Linked DNA regions of Homo sapiens: region 2 is linked to region 1. Evidence: promoter capture Hi-C in 16 types of primary human blood cells and fetal thymus (Javierre and others, 2016). All regions are on one chromosome and are shown on one strand. Each heading gives the region's core, a stretch centred on a gene start or on the middle of the fragment in contact. The rest is flanking DNA. Distances are from core to core; before and after follow the strand shown. Region 1 holds the start of ZNF260 (zinc finger protein 260). Region 2 holds the start of ZNF793 (zinc finger protein 793).

What was found. The method cuts DNA at HindIII sites, captures the fragments that hold promoters and counts their contacts. A CHiCAGO score of 5 or more calls a contact.
Region 2: a contact is called between the fragment with the promoter of ZNF793 here and the fragment with the promoter of ZNF260 in region 1, in 3 of 17 cell types (total CD8 T cells, non-activated CD4 T cells and naive CD8 T cells). The highest score is 6.5, in total CD8 T cells.

Annotation. Positions count from the first base shown.
Region 1 is chr19:36,525,895-36,531,470 of GRCh38, reverse strand. It overlaps ZNF260 (zinc finger protein 260), which reads left to right and starts at 3,200. Exons shown (of 3, transcript NM_001166037.2): 1 at 3,200-3,252. RefSeq lists enhancers at 2,473-2,672, 2,484-3,192, 2,823-3,452, 3,193-3,903. The HindIII fragment of the contact is 4,591 bases long and covers 142-4,732 here.
Region 2 is chr19:37,503,336-37,508,359 of GRCh38, reverse strand. It overlaps ZNF793 (zinc finger protein 793), which reads right to left and starts at 1,421. Exons shown (of 8, transcript NM_001013659.3): 1 at 1,394-1,421; 2 at 1-95. It overlaps ZNF793-AS1 (ZNF793 antisense RNA 1), which reads left to right and starts at 1,273. Exons shown (of 3, transcript NR_110723.1): 1 at 1,273-1,521; 2 at 2,320-2,514. RefSeq lists enhancers at 1,205-1,354, 920-1,711, 1,712-2,503. The HindIII fragment of the contact is 7,284 bases long and covers 1-2,280 here.

The sequences.
Region 1 (5,576 bases), core at 1,951-4,450:
AGTAGCACTGCTATCATTTATTAACTACTTACTATTCTTTCATTAATCAAATATTTACTGAGAGCCAACTATGTGCTAGCCATTGTAAATGGTGAAGATGGAACAACTAAACAAAAAGACAAGTCCCTTCTTTCACAAGCTTGAGTCTAGTTACAATGAAGAAAATTAAAGTGCAACTACACATTTCATGCATAGATAGGTAGAATATACATATCTTCTAATCAAATTGCTTTCACACAACATATATAACTTAAAATCCTCTATTTTCATTTAATATGACATTGTAAACTCTCATCTCCTTCCTTCCATTATAAATGCATGGTTATGGCCGGGCATGGTGGCTCACACCTGTAATCCCAGCACTTTGGGAGGCCGAGGCAGACGGATCACCTGAGGTCAGGAGTTTGAGACCAGCCTGGCCAACATGGTGAAACCCCATCTCTTCTAAAAATACAAAAATTAGCCAGGCATGGTGGTGCACGCCTGTAGTCCCAGCTACTCAGGAGGCTGAGGCAGGAGCATCACTTGAACTCAATAGGCAGAGGTTGCAGTGAGCTGAGATTGCGCCACCGCACTCCAGACTGGGCAACAGAGCAAGTTTCTGTCTCAAAAAAAAAAAAAAAAAAATGCATGGTTATGAGATAGCTGCTCTGCATGTAGCACAATATCCACATTCCAGACAGAAAGGGGAAAAAGAATGTATGCACACTGAGCCTGCCCCACCCCATCCCCATACCTTTAAAGAACTGCCTGAGTGGCCAGGTGCAGTAGCTCATGCCTGTAATCCCAGCACTTTGGGAGGCCTAGGCAGGCAGATCACCTGAGGTCAGGAGTTCGAGACCAGCCTGGCCAACATGGTGGAAACCTCATCTCTACTAAAAACACAAAAATTAGCCGGGCATGGTGGCAGTCGCCTGTAATCCCAGCTACTCAGGAGCCTGAGGCAGGAGAACCGCTTGAACCCGGGAGGTGAAGGTTGCAGTGAGCTGAGATCACGCTACTGCACTCCAACTTGGGTGACTGAGTGAAGACTCCATTTCAAAAAAAAAAAAACTGTCTGAGAAGCCCAATCTAAGAACTTTAACTTACATCAACAGGAGAAGCTAGAACACGTAGAGTTTGGGTTTTTTGTTTGTTTTCTGTTTGTTTTTCTTTAAGCAGAGCAAACAAGATCAGGACTTTTATAGCAATAAAGAAGGGAATGGATATTGGGTTAGCCACATATGTGGCAAAACAATTAACAGTATCTACAATTTAATATATTCTCAAATAGCTTTCAATTATGTAGGAAGTTAAAATATCACTTAAAACATGAGATACATTTCAATATGTGCATATACAAATATGTGTATGTATATTTATGTATATGCATATATATCTACATATGTATATAGGTAAAACCAAACTAAGCATACATGATAAACTGAACCATTTGCTATATTAATAAGACAAAATTAGGAAGATTTTTCCAAAGAGTAACAGAAGATTCCAGGTTACTTGATAAGTCCTTTTAGGCATTTGCTAAGAAAAAAAAAATCAGCCGGGCGCAGTGGCTCATGCCTGTAATCCCAGCACTTTGGGAGGCCGAGGTGGACGGTTCACAAGGTTAGGAGTTCAAGACAAGCCAGGCCAACATAGTGAAGCCCCGTCTCTACTAAAAATACAACAACAAAAAAATTACCCGGGCGTGGTGGCCGGCACCTGTAATCCTAGCTACTCGGTAGGCTGAGGAAGGAGAATCGCTTGAACCTGGGAGGCGGAGGTTGCAGTGAGCCGAGATCGCGCCACTGCACACCAGCCCGGGCGACAGTGCGAGACTCCATCTCAAAAAAAAAAAAAATCAGGTCCTGGAAAAATAAAGCATTTCAGGAACAAAGAGAAAACTTCAAGGCACCTTAAACATGGCTTTTAGATATCACAACCGTTATTTCCTCTCCTCTGGGGAACCTCTCTTGGAGGACAGAAATGAGAAGGGAGACAATACACCTCCCCTAGGGCCCAAATGACAAGGCCAGAGCTTACTCTGCGTTCCCCTCCCCCGCCATGGGAGGGCTATCAGAGGAAACTGGGGCTTCCAACTCAAAACTCAGTGTCATAGAAAAATCCCCTTTACTATCACGGGGCCGAGCTGTCTTCTGCTCTCACATATGACTATGTGTGACATTTGGTCAAAGACACACAAACACAGTCTCAACTCCACGCACACCCAATGCTTCACAGTCACACACCCACCACTGTACACAAAGTCACAAGCACCCACCCTCCATACTCCCACACAAGGACACAGAGTCACAACTACATAAGTACAAAGCTCCCTATATCTGCACACAAACGAACATATGGTCACAGAGTTACAATCACACACCCACCGCGGGCACACAGTCACAGCTAACCCACACCCTCACACAGCGTTACACAGTCACACAATAACAGTCCTAACACAGGGACTCACGGGACACCCGCAGAGTCCTCCCCACATCCGTACACAAGGTGTCACACACAATCACAATCACACACACACTGTGCTAGGACATACATTCACAAAAACACAATTTCACAACCGCCCTTCTCGGCGCGTTCCGCCTGAACAGACTTAATACTCAGTCTCAACCTCCGCACCGGATTCCAGACGCTTCACCTCCAACCTCCTCCTGATCCTGTAGTCTCCGAGCCGACCCGCTCAGAGGCCAGCACCTGGGTCGCGTGCAGCTCTCCCCCGAGCCGCGGGAGTCGCGAGGGGAGGGGCCGAGGGCGCGGCGCCTTCTGGGAAATGTAGTTCAGCGCCACGCCCGCGATGAGCAAGATGGCGCCCGGCTTGAGCCCAGCCAAAGGGATTACCCTCATTCCCGAACCGTGTCTGAGAGTCTCCTGGGGTTCCTGGCTTAGTATCGCACCGTGGCTGTTACATAAAGTCAGCACAGCGTGTTTAAGCTGATGTTACACCACTACCCAATCCCAGGGATAGAGTAAACTAAGACTAAGGCCTTACACCCCTGCCCCGGCCAGGGAGACAGTCCCACAAGCTCTGGCGGAGGAAAAGTTCGCGCGAAAAGCTGACTCAAACCGCTGAACCTTCTGGGAAATGTAGTCTACCCTCAAAAGAGTGGCACGGAGGACGGGCCAAGATCTCTCGATTCCGTCCGGTTCTGAGTCGGGGCCTGGCCCAGCCCAGGAGACCTCTGGGAGCGCTGCCCGCGGAAGGAGTGCGCAGGCGCGGAATCTCCGACTTGCCATGGTCGTCTTTGTCTGCCGGTGAGTTGGGTTTCGGCCCTGTGGGACTTGGGTTTCTGGACACTGAAACGGGCCAGGGACGCTGGAGGGGAGGATTTGCAGTGCCTGCGACGGGGCTGGGAGTATGGAGGGGAGGAATCGCCTTCTATGATGTGCGGTGATCCGAGCTTGTGTGGCTGGGGGCAGGGGTACAGTTCGGGTGGGTTCGCGGGTGGGTGACCGAGAGTGTGAGGGGGTGTTGAGGGTGCAGAGTTAGTGAGAAACTGGTTCCAAGTTTGTGAGGATGGACGGATGGCTTTGTGAGGTAGTAACCTCTAAGCCTCACTTTTCTCATTTCTAAAATAATAAAGATGCGTTTTCTGGAAAATAGGAAACGGAAAAGGCTAAGGAATTGAGCGGATAAGTAATTTTAAAGGTGATTTTTTATATAAAAGCAGACCTATTGTGGAGTAGAAAACAAAATCAGCATTACCTTTCCATTATTTTTTTAAAGAGGCAAGATTTCGGAAAAACTTGTTACTGGGTGCCTGTACACCCAGTAGGCATTGACTTTTCTTAATACTTTGGAGAAACTTTGGTGCAGTTGCTTGGAGAAACCCTGAACTAAGGAATATCTTTAAGAGGTAGTTTCCAATAGCGCAGACGGCACAGAATTTGGAAGCTACTTGTCCTGCCTTTAGCGCAGAGGTCAAGAAACTCCCTAGTTCGTCAGTGAGGGCAGCAATCTCACTCCTAATTTAATCAGGGTTTCCCCAGCCTTTTGTAAATATAGGGGAAATTCTTTTCTTGTGTATACAAAGATAGAAGTATCCTATCTTCAAGTATCTTGTCACACTTATTCTTAACATATCAACATATTCAAGTATCTTGTCACACTTATTCTTAACATATTTTTCAATAAAATAAAAAAGTAACAGGGTTAATAGTTTTGAAATATACAGAAAAAGTAAAAGATACAAAGAAGACAGGACTTAGTTTCTGCTTTTCCCCTAACTATTGGTGTTTCTAAGTTTCTGGCCTTGATCATCTAAGTACTCCTATCAGCAACAACATTACACTGCCATCCATGGCTTCATCTAATACAGATGACTAATAAATGTCTGTTTCTGCTGGAGGCTTGTCCTGAGCTCCTAATCCATATTATCTAATTGCCCAATGTGCAGTCCACCTGGAAGTTACAGGGAACTTCAAGCTCTTTATGTCTAAAGGGCTCCTTCTTCCTGCAGTCTGCCTCCATCTATTTCCCCTCTGTACCTGTTTCAGCAATTTATAGCACTGTCTAGCCAGGTTCTAAGGCACTTACATCTTAGAGAAGGCTTCTAAGTAAGTTTGATCCTTTGATTTGTTATATCCCATTACAAATTGTAAACCAAGGTTTCTCAGCACACATAATCATAAATGTATATGTTTGCTGAATCAGTGAATGAACAGTCAGCCCTCTGTGTCTGTAGGCTCTGCTTCCACGGATTCAACAAACATGAATCATAACTGTTGTTAAGCTTGCGATGGTTGTATCTGTACGTGTACAGATTTTTTTTTCTTGTCATGATTCCCTAAACAATACAGTATAACAACTATTTACCAGACATTTACGTTGTATTACGTATGATAAGTAATCTGGAGATAATTTTAAAGTATATGGGAGGATGTGCATAGGTTATATGTAAATATACTTCCATTCACTTTATTTTTATTTTTTTGAGATGGAGTCTCACTCTGTCACCCAGACTGGAGTGCAGTGGTGCAATCTCGGCTCACTGCCACCTCTGCCTCCTGGGTTCAAGCGATTCTCCTGCCTCAGCCTCCCAAGTAGCTGAGGTACAGGTGTGTGCCACCATGCCCAGCTAATTTTTTTATTTTTAGTAGAGACAGGGTTTCACCATCTTGGCCAGCCTGGTCTCGAACTCCTGACCTCAGGTGGTCAGCCTGCCTCAGCCTCCCAAAGTGCTGGGATTACAGGCGTGAGCCACCATGCCTGGCTTTATATTTGAAGTATAAGGGACTTGAGCATCTGCAGATTTTGGTATCCACAGTGATCCTGGAACCAATCTCCTGTGATATCAAGGGAAGATTATTATTATAGGACACTTACTATATTTAACTTCTCCTAGTTAATCTAAGTAAAATATTAGTCCTCTAAATTTTTTAGAGCTCTGACCTATAAATACCATCAGAATAATTTCCTGTATTTTTTTCCATATCACTCAAGGTTGGTTACTTCAGACTTATGAGAAAAGTGTTATGGGGAAAAATTATATGCAAAGATGTGACTTCACTCAGGAGCAAGGTCACAAGTGACACCTGCTCGAAGGAACCTATACAGGTTGTGATTGTGGATAACTCTG
Region 2 (5,024 bases), core at 172-2,671, 980 kb before region 1:
CCGCTGTCACAGAGTCAGAATGGATTTCCAGAAACCAGCCTCACTCTTGGGATGCTGGCACAGATGCGTATGTCATTACCTTTGCCAGAAAGAGCCTTAAAGGAAACATTAGGAAAAAATATGCATTAGATCCCTAACAAGAATAGAAGCCACGTCTTTAGTAACATGTTACTTTAGATAAGTTTAGCACGCGATCCTTTCAAATTATTTTCATTATTGTAGAGAACAATAAAAAGGGTGTGGGTTCAAAAAAGAGTTTTCAGATGGGCCTTGGTGGAGAGGAACTGGCTGCTATTCAGCTAGGGAGTGTCACCTGAGTGAAATGTGTTCCCGCTATGCAGGCTTGCAGCCTCAAATCTGTGATTTTCCCATCCCCAATCTCCACATTTCAGGACCCTCAACACCAACCCCTATAAGTCTCCTAATCAGACACGCATAGTGCCCCCAATCACTGGCCTCCAATCTCCAACCCTCAGAGGTTTTCATAGTCACTGATATTCCCCTATGTTCAAATCTGACCAGGAGAGACTACAGGTCAGTAACTACAAAGAACACCGATCCGATCTGATTGCCAGTGAAATTACACAGCCCCCAATCATGAATCCACACTGATTGCCAATGATATCCCAACGACTGAGGATCAATTGTTGATTCTCACAGTCCCACTCCCACCCACAAGTGACAGTCCGAATCACTGAGCCTCATTGAGGCGTACCTTTAAGATAAGCACACTTGACTCTATTCTCCATTCCCTGATCTACAAAAGTCCAATCGTTAATACTCTCCGATCCTCCACCGATGATATGAAGTAAGTCTCAATCACCGATGGCCCAAAACATTTCTCCAAACATTCATCACCACTGACCTCCCTCATTTGAACCCCAAAGTTTCCACAATCACCAATTCCAGTACCCAAACTATTACTGCCCACAGAACTTAGAACCTCCGATCACTGATCCTCTCGGGCTCCGATCATTAACCTTAAAGATCTCTAAACCAGTGTCTGAAAAATCCCAACTGACCCCAGACCCATGAAGACCACTATTACTGACCCCATGCACCCTGAAAATCAAGACATTTCACAGAACTCGCATTTATTGATTCCCACACACTCCCAATCCATCTTCTTCAGAGACCGTGCCACTGACTCCCGCAAACCTCTGTCCGCCACCACTGAGGCCCCGCGAGGCTCAGACGCCGAATCTCTTAACCCTTCAGTTCCCTTGTCATTGACCCTCACGGGCACCCATAGCTGACCCAGTCGGCCACCGTAGTCGGCAGCTCACTATCCTCCACTAGTCCCAGGTTTGACCGTTTCTCAAACCGTGCCTTCCCATTTATGCTGCATCCGCGCCCTGAATCTGAAATTGGTCGTCCTGCCACGCCGCCTCACCGCGGTATAAGGTCGTCCCATCCTGAATGGCCGGTGCGCAGACTCAATTGCGACTTTGAGGCTGTCAGCCGCCACCCGGCAACCTTCCAGTGAACAGGATTCTGGGTTTCTCAAAGCTGTAATTGGAGGTATGATGGCGACGCCCACTTGACTCCTACCTGGGGCGGCCATGTTTAAAACTGTGCCGTAAAACGGATGATTAAGCCCTTTGCTAGACCAAAAGATAAGGCTATTTTAGGACAAGGAGAAGGAAGTGTCCCTGGATCCCTAAACAGAGATGTCGTCTCTGCTCTTAACTCAGCATCTCAGATGCCAAAACCTCCTGTGGCCAACATGGTGGCGCCCAGACATCAAAGCTGAGCTTTCTTTGTCTCCGGCAGCCTGGTAAGATGGCCGCGTACATTTTTACCGCTTCTTACGTGCAATGGGTGCAGCCTCTCCTAGGAGCTCCCCTATGGCAATGTGAAACTCTTTCTGAGCCAGCTCTAGGAGTTAGAGAGCAGCGAAGAGACTCGCTCTTAGGGAGACAGAGACAGCCTAAGGACGGGCGTGACTTCACGGAAAGGGCGGAGCCGCAAGGAAAGGGCGGGGCTGCCGCAGCGGGAAGAGATCAGAGTTCTTAGCGCATAATGGAAAGGAAATGTTGAAAGCAAGGTTTTTACCTAAGGAGGCTTGCCCGAGAAGCCGACCTGAGGAAAGAATGAGTGCAAGCAGTTTATTTGGTAGGTGGGGGATGGAGAAGTGAGACGGGAGCGATGGGAACGAATATACAGTGCATAGGTGAGCAGATTAGCTCTGGATCAATGAGGGCTCAGTCAGCTTGGGACCTCTGGGGGATTGTGTAGAAACCACTTCCAAGTTTTCACAACCACCAGGCCGATGAAGCTTACATATGTCTACACCATCTCTCTTCCTAATTGTTTTAGGGCCACTCCAGAGGTGTTAAAGCTCCAGCACTTCGAGCCTGCCTCGTGGGAAAGTCTTAGGCTGAGTCTGTAGGTGTCTGCAGTTAAGAAGCCAGCGGTCTGCATATGATTGCTCAGGGGTGGTGGCTGGGTCCAACAGCATTCACTACAGGCCTGCCTTGAATACCACCTAGCGCAGTGCTCCGCATATCACAGGTATTGGAACATCTCTAGAAAAGATTGCCTTGTCTTATGAAAATGGCTTTTTAAAAAAATCCTAATTCCAACTGGTCATCCTAGCAACTGATACAATAACTGACCTCAAAATGTTTCCCAATGATTCCTACCTCCTACTATTCACACTCTTATGTAGTTCCCTCCCACATTGTACCAGGGTTGGACTGTGAGACTAATAGAATGCAGTAGCAGTGATAGATGTCACTGCTGAGATTAAATATAATAAATGGCACCTTGAGTTCTGTCTTAAAGGCTGCTGCCCCCACTTTGAGAGAAGTTAGTTGCCATGTCATGAGGATACCGAGACAGCCTATGGAGAGGCCCAGGTAGCAAGGAACTAAGCCCTCCACCCAATAGCCTGGGAGTAGCTGGGGCCTTCCTATAACCAAGTGTATCACCCTTGGAAGCACATCTCCCAGCCCCAGTCAAACCTTGAGATGACAGCAGCCCCTGCCAATAGTTTGACTGCAACTGCGTGAGAGACACAGTCACAAGCACTCAGCTATAGCAGCTCCTATATTCCTCACCCTCAGAAAGTGTGTAAGATACTACATGTTTGTTGTTTTAAGCTTCTGAGTTTAGGGTAATTTGCTATGCATCAGTAGATAACTTCAATGCTGTGTTAAAATGCTACAATTGACATTTCTTCTTTTTTTTTTTTTTTGAGACGGAGTTTCGCTCTTGTTGCCTAGGCTGGAGTGCATTGGTGCAATTTCAGCTCACCGCAACCTCTGCCTCCCGGGTTCAAGCGATTCTCCTGCCTCAGCCTCCTGAGTAGCTGGGATTACAGGCATGCACCACCACGCCAGGCTAATTTTGTATTTTTAGTAGAGACGGGGTTTCTCCATGTTGGTCAGGCTGGTCTCGAACTCCCGACCTCAGGTGATCCGCCTGCCTCGACCTCCCAAAGTGCTGGGACTACAGGTGTGAGCCACCGCGCCCAACCCCATTTCTGAATTCTTTAAATAAAGTTCCTAAAGTTGCGAGATTATTCTGTCAGAGGAGATTATTACCAGTTTCCTCTTCTTCCTTGCGATGGAAAAATTAAAGGCCTATGGCTCTGCTAGATTTTTAAAATTTAACAAAGAGGTCAAGGGTCCTTGCTTCATTTGATTTAATATAAGTGGTTTATATGACAACACTTTGAAGTGATTATAGTAATTAATTTAAAATCACCATTTAGGCTGGGCATGGTAGCTCACACATGTAATTCCAGCACTTTGAGAAGCCAAGGTGGGCAGATCACCTGAGGTCAGGAGTTCAAGACCAACCCGGCCAACATGTTGGAACCCCGTCTCTACTAAAAATACAAAAATTAGCCGGCATGGTGGACGCCTATAATTCCAGCTGCTCGGGAGGCTGAGGTAGGAGAATCACTGAACCCAGGAGGTGGAGGTTTCAGTGGGCCAAGATTGTGCCATTGCACTCCAGCCTGGGTGAGACTCTGTCTCTAAAAAAACAAAAATAATAATATTGAAGTAAAATGAGTATTTATAAAGTGCCTATTAAATGCCTGATTGATCACTGGCCTGCTCACTTCAAGGGCTGTTCTTATTCTAGGATTAGACCAATAAAGCAGCCACAACTGGTAAATTGTCACTCATGAAGGCCGAGGGAAAGACAGCCTTTGAGGGTCTTTTGCTGGGAATTAAACGTTCTGCCTCAAAAACTATACATGTCATTTCCATTCACTAGTCTTTGAGACGTCACATGGCCACCCAGGAGTGTGATAGCAGACATGTAATCCTACCATAATTCTGGGATGGGAAGAGCTGGCGATATTTTGGAATAACATTAAAGACTGCCACAAACATTGTAAAGATAGTGTTATCATCACGCTTCAAAAGAAACTGCAACACGGGGGTGAGGTGACCTGTCCGTAATCATTCAGTGAGTAAATAAAGCAACAAGGATTCAGAGCTGGGTGTTTCTGTGTTATTCAGAAGTAAAGGATCATTAGCATCATTATTAAATTTTACCCAAAATTTATTAGAACCTAAATATATCTCAGCAACTGAATTGGGAAAAAGAAGACTGAGTACTCGAGTAAAAATAGAGGCTACTCAAGGAGCTGACCTCTTGATTGGGGAAGGAGTACACATGGAAAGAGGAAACAGGTAAAAGAAGAGTACACACTGTAGGACTCCAGTCATGAGAAACTCAAGAACAGGCAAAACAGATCTATTGAGTTATAAATCAGAAAGCAGTTGACTCCAGGGGCTATTTTTTTTTTTTTTTTTTTTTTTTCTGAGACAGAGTCTCTACTCTGTCTCCCAGGCTGGAGTGCAGTGGTGAGATCTCCATCTCGGCCCACTGCAACCTCCTTCCAGGTTCAAGTGATTCTCGTGCCTCAGCCTCCCAGGTAGCTGGGATTACAGGCATGCGCCATCACACCCGGCTAATTTTTGTATTTTTAGTAGAGATGGCGTTTCACCATCTTAGCCAGGCTGGTCTCAAACTCCTGACCTCAAGCGATCCGCATGCCTCAG